2 separate regions of the Homo sapiens genome follow, and region 1 is linked to region 2. The links are contacts of gene promoters, found by promoter capture Hi-C in blood cells and fetal thymus (Javierre and others, 2016). All regions are on one chromosome and are shown on one strand. The core of a region is centred on a gene start or on the middle of the fragment in contact, and the rest is flanking DNA. Distances in the headings are between cores, read along the strand shown.

What was found. The method cuts DNA at HindIII sites, captures the fragments that hold promoters and counts their contacts. A CHiCAGO score of 5 or more calls a contact.
Region 1: the fragment with the promoter of KIN here is called in contact with the fragment with the promoter of TASOR2 in region 2 in 1 of 17 cell types (monocytes); the score reaches 6.2 in monocytes.

The regions. Positions count from the first base shown.
Region 1 is chr10:7,786,593-7,789,344 of GRCh38, forward strand. It overlaps KIN (Kin17 DNA and RNA binding protein), which reads right to left and starts at 1,401. Exons shown (of 13, transcript NM_012311.4): 1 at 1,228-1,401. The coding sequence starts at 1,341. It overlaps ATP5F1C (ATP synthase F1 subunit gamma), which reads left to right and starts at 1,585. Exons shown (of 10, transcript NM_001001973.3): 1 at 1,585-1,671. The coding sequence starts at 1,616. RefSeq lists enhancers at 1,354-1,673, 2,126-2,669. The HindIII fragment of the contact is 3,793 bases long and covers 1-2,567 here.
Region 2 is chr10:5,683,544-5,686,506 of GRCh38, forward strand. TASOR2 (transcription activation suppressor family member 2) reads left to right here and starts at 1,295. Exons shown (of 22, transcript NM_001321783.2): 1 at 1,295-1,632. RefSeq lists enhancers at 849-1,088, 1,229-1,338, 1,959-2,138 and silencers at 1,389-1,648, 1,689-1,738. The HindIII fragment of the contact is 4,285 bases long and covers 1-2,963 here.

The sequences.
Region 1 (2,752 bases), core at 151-2,650, 2.1 Mb after region 2:
GTATCTCAAAAAAAAAAAGAGGAAGAGAAGTTTCTATTAGAGCTTGCTCTATCTGCTTTGTGAGGATAGAGGCAGTTTCGCAAACCAAGAAGAGGACCCTCACTAGAATCTGACCATGCCAGCACCTTGATCTTGAACTTCCCAGCCTCCAGAACTGTGAGAAATAAATTTCTGTCATTTAAACCACCCAGTCTACTGCACTTTATATGGCAGTCCAAGCAGACTAAGACATTAGATAATGCATATACAGGTATTCCTTAATAGAACTAAAGAGAGTAACTGTATCAATATTAGTATGAGTCCTACCTAAAATACCTCTTCCTTCACTTGCAGAAACACTGGATTAGATTATTCCAATTGCCTCAGTGTTCTTCCACCCTTACCCAATCCAGTCCAATCTCCGGAGAAAAATATGATCACATCACTAGCCTGCACAGCATTCAATCAACCACCTCTTTAATGGGGAAAAGTGTAAATTCCATAGTGTAGCCATATAAGGCTTTTCGAGATCTGCCCAGACTCCTTGAGCCACTCTATATATACTTCACTCATTTAAAACTCAGCGACAATCCTACAAGTAGGTGAAATTATTATTCCCTCTTTACAGATAAGTAAAGGGGAATATAAGTAAATAACTTGCCCAAGACCACACGGTTGGTAAGTGGCCCTGCTTGACTTTAAATTTTGACAGTCTGATATATCCATAAACCAGATAAATCCATAATTTTAACCACAATATTATTCTGTGCCCGGTACAGTGTAGGTGCTCAATAAATGCTTGCTAGATGAGTAGTGTGGAAGAGCTTAGCTCTCCTTTTTCACCTGATCCCAAAAGAGGAGTGAATCCTAACCACCCTGTTTCTCTTAAGAGTCAAGTCAAGTAAGAGCTGATGACTGTTACTGGCATTGCCCGGGCGTCTAGTATTGCAGTATCCCCGCCCCTGTGAGGGGTGCAAAACCTTTTCTGATTTCATTTCTTTGGTGGTGGGGATCGGACTGGGGAGGAATGAGGGGTCGCAGAACACAGGCTGCCCGCTGGGCCCGGGGGCTGCGGGGAGGGACGGCTCTCGTGCGCTGAGTAGTTGACTCGCCCACTGCAGACCTCAGAAGCCTCACGACCCGGACCCCGGGAGCCCCAGCCCCGCGCCCTCAGCCCCGCGTCCAGGACCTGATCCTGGATTGCCAGGGGCCCTCCTGGGAAGACGGGGCCACTCCGGGCCCACTCACCTCGTCCCGGCACTGCTTCTGGCACATCTGGCAATACCAGCGTAGCTTCTGCAGCCCCTTGGACTTGATCCTGTTGGCGATAGCCTTGGGAGTAAGAAAATCCGACTTCCCCATGGCGACCACGGCAGCGATCACTTTCTGGACCCCAGTACTCAGCCAGCCGGAAACGGAACCGGGCTGGCGGCGGTGGGCGGGACAAATCCCAGCTGAGAGGCGGAAGGAGGTGGGGCCTGGGAAGACTGGGTTGCAACGGTCGCGAGACTCCCCTCGCCGTAGCGCGAAGAAACGAGACTGAAGAAGAGAGCAAGGTGGGAGGGGCGCGCTGGGGAGCTTCGGCGCATGCGCGCTGAGGCCTGCCTGACCGACCTTCAGCAGGGCTGTGGCTACCATGTTCTCTCGCGCGGGTGTCGCTGGGCTGTCGGCCTGGACCTTGCAGCCGCAATGGTATGGCAGCTTGCGGGAAGATCGGCAGGACCGCAAGGGATGGAAGAGCTTGGGCACGGGGCAGGGAGGAGGAGATGGGCGCGGGGGCAGATGTGGGGTCGCAGGGCCTAGCTGGGCCCCTGGCCCGTCGGAGGCGCCGGGTAGCGGGGGCTGCAGGAAGCGGCTCTGAGGTCGGGCAAGGTGTGCGCAGGGCCGGGCTCCGGCGGAGCAAGGTCCCGCCCGGTTCCCTGAGGTCGGAGGGCCACCTGGGACCTCGGGACTGCGGCCTGAGTCCAAATTGACGTCTGGGCGGTCTTGAGTTCCCTCAGCTAATCAGCACTTCCTGAGCTTCCACTTCCACTGCAAGCCAGGCCCCCAGTCTCAGGGCCTGCAAGGTGACGGGAGCCTGAGCAATAGCCCAGGGGAAGGTTAAGTCGTGCTTTTTGTCCTTGACGCCCTTTGAAACCCTGTAGTGCTGGACAGAGTGACCCTTTAAGATTCGATCGAGTCAGAGAGCGCGGCCGTCGAGCACCTCCCGTGTTGCAGACGCTTTGCTGGGTGCTGCAACAGCAAAGGCGAACATCCTAGATGCCTCTGAGGGTGGTTTTGGTGCAGAAGGGACCGTACAGATCTGTCTGAGGGCGGGGAAGGGAAGGACACCTAGCACTACCTTGAAACCACTTGCTGAAACCGTAACCCTGCAAGGTCATGAAATTGCCCCCAGGTCCTGGGGGAGGAGTTCGGTGGGCTTTTAAGTGGCATTTGTTAACTGACATGCAACTAAAGGGTGCCACGAGCCTCGAGAATTTTAAACATTAGTTCCGGGTAGGGGGACCTGGGCTGGGGGAAGTGCATATTAGAAGGCCCGGGAATGGGCAGGTAAAAGTTGGTTTGTGGGTGGTGCTGTTCAGTTTTGAAGCTTGACGGAATCTGGAAGAATTCCAGACACGCTGCTAAGGGGATTCTAGGCTGTGTCGTAGCAATTCCCTGCTCTTAACAGTGTGGAGGATTTCTAAGGCGCTACAGTGCTAAACTAGATTTTCGTATCCTAATTTATATGAAGGGACCATAAAGCATTAGTTGAAATAAATAGGTTTTTCAT
Region 2 (2,963 bases), core at 45-2,544:
CCCCAGTGGGACAAAATGGAGGTGAAGACAATGATGTTGATGATCCTGACCCTGTGTAGGCCCAGGTTAATGTGTGTTTGTGTCTTAGTTTTTAACAAAAAAGTTTAAAAAGTAAATTAAAAAAATTTTTAAATAGAAAAAAACTTACAGATTAAGGATATAAAGAAAATATTTGTGTACAATGTGTTTGTTTTAAGCTAAGTGTTATTACAAAAGAGTCTTAAAAAGTTTTTTAAAAGTTTTAAAAAGTTAAAAAGTTACAGTAAGCTAAGGTTAATTATGAAAAAATTTAAAAAAATAAATTCAGTGTAGCTTAGGTGTACAGTGTTTATAAAGTCTACAAGAGTGTACAGTAATGTCCCAGACCTTCACATTCTCATTGCTCACTCACAGACTCACCCAGAGCAACTCCCAGTACTGCAAGGTCCATTCGTGAGAATGCCTTACACAGGTGTACCATTATTTTTCATACTGTATTTTTATTGTACCTTTTCTATGTCTAGATATGCTTATACAAATACTTACCATTGTGTTATAATTGTCCACAGTATTCAGTACAATAACATATAGCATGGGTTTGTAGCCAGGAGTAATGGGCTATGGCTTATGGTGTAAGTATGTAGTAGGTTATGCTTCTAGGTTTCTGTGATGTTCACTCAAGGACCAAATTGCCTAATGAGGCATCTCTCTCATAAGGTGTCCCTACAGTTAAATGATGTTTGCATGACTATTTATCATGGGCAAGGGTAAACCTGAATTTATTGATGGTCACCTTAGCTCTCTGTGCATGTGTTATAAATTTCTAGAGATGCTTTCCTAGGGGGTAACAGCCACACCTACTATATGGATTAAAACAAGGGCAAAATTTCCAAAATGTCGCATTCGGGCCAGACAAATAAACTGTTCTTGCAGCAGCACCTGGGGAATGAAACGCTGAGAAGGGAGAAGGCGCCCGAAGGCGACCACGTGGGCCACAGCCACAGCACTGTAGGTCAGCCGAGAGAGCGTCTCCCGCCTCTTCCCAAGGGCATCTTCCGCCTCCTGTCAAGGGTCGGCAACGCGAGACACCACGCGCTCGTTGGGATCGGCCGCCTAATCAGGAGCGAGCTGTGGCCTTACGCCTGCGCAGAGGGGAGACGCGAGCGCCGCGTGGACGCTGACCTCGGTCCGCGCCTGCGCCTTGGTTTCTTCCCGGCGATTGGTTCCCATCTCTGAGGGAGACGCCTCACTTCAGTTTTCACTTTCTTTTTTTGCCCCCCCCTCCCCTTTTCTTTTCCTTTGGCCGCGAGGTTTTGCTTCCGGTTGCTAGCGCCGGTCAGAGAGAAAGTCGGCATGTTCTCGCAGGCTGCCGGGCGTCCCGGGGTTGCCTCTTGCCCGTGACCCTGACGGGAGACAGAGCGCGGGCGGCCGCGGCGTCCCTGTCAGCGCCCGCGGCGAGGACCCCGGGGCTGGGGCGGACGGCGTGCCCCTGAGGGGGGTCCCCGCGGGAGCGCGGAGCCGGCGACTGGTGCTTCCCACGTGCGCCGGTGTCGCGAGGGCCCGGGAGGACGCAGAGCACGGCCGGGAGAAGCATGGGAAGGAGGCCGAGCCGGGATCTCAGGTCCTCGGGGGCGGCGGCCACGCCAAGGACGGGTAAGTCCCTCCTCGGCCTGGGCGCCCGGGAACCCTGCGAGGAGGACGGCGGGTCCCCGAGGCCGAGCGCTCGGGCAGCTGCCGGGGCTTGGCTGCGAGGGTCGACGCGTTCTCCTTGCCTTTTGCCGCGCTCCGGGTGAGGGGGTGGGAGGGGTCGGCGCCTTCTAGATGACTCAACCTTCTGTCCTGCGCTACAACCTGTGGCCGCGCTCGGTGTCGCCGGCAGGGAGATCCTAACCGTGTCATCTTGCCCCTTTCTGAGGCGTTTCGTTTGCGTCGCCTGTCAGGGGACAGCTGCGTCCTCAGGGATATGCTGATAAGTTCTTGGCTGAAGTTTCCGTCTTCGGGTTTGCACCGGCTGGGAAATCATTTCCTGCGGGTTCTGCGTGAAGCCTGCTGCTACTCGAGACTTCATGGCAATGCGCCACCTTTTCTTTTTAGGGTAAAACAGGTCTCTCCGAAGGGAGGGTCATTTCAGCAGCAAGCGCAAGCCGCGTTGGGATAACTTGGTGCGAGCAACACAGAAGTTTGTCTGAAGGCGGCGCCAAGCAGCGTTTCGTGGGAGAACTGGGTTGATGACTGAAATTTTGAGGAAGATTACTTTGGGAATTCTCAAGTTTCTCTTAGTCGCTTCTTGTCTATTTGAAATCTGTAACTTTAAACAAACCACGCTTACTCTTCCTTATTCTCCCTGTAAGGTACAATTAGAATAGAAAAGTTTATGAAAGTGTATCCAAAACTTAAATATGTGGCGTACAAGTGTATGGTATTATTGGAATGGCATTCGCGATCCTAGAGTCTACAGTGTTCCCTGAATAAAACTAGGGGTGAGCCTGGCGGTAATCCTGCCTAGGAGGTTTATAGCAAAGCAGTGTCCCCTAACGGTGCAAGAATACCCTTCTGTCGAAAAACTGCCTTATAGGAATGGGTGACTGTATGCGGTATGTCCTGTACTGTACATCAATAAATAACTAAGCCAGGCCAGAAAAAGGGTGACAAAAGGTCCACAATTATGTTAAGGAAGACCAAGACGGTATATTTGAAGTTTTGTGTATACAGAACATTTGCCCAAATGTAACTAATTTTTTTAAAGGGAGATTATAAGCATCTCCTGTGGTCCAAACATAGTTGTTAAAATGGGTTAAAATCGGTGAAGTGCCTAAGAACTTGACTGAGACATGGTGTTTGTTAAATACAGTATACTATCTATTCAGTAAAAATAGATCAATATGGCATGTATTTATCAAGTGAATTTCATTTTTCTGTTGGTAGACATTCAAGTTATTTTCAAGATATCCCTATAACTGACAATACTGCAGTGATTATCTCTT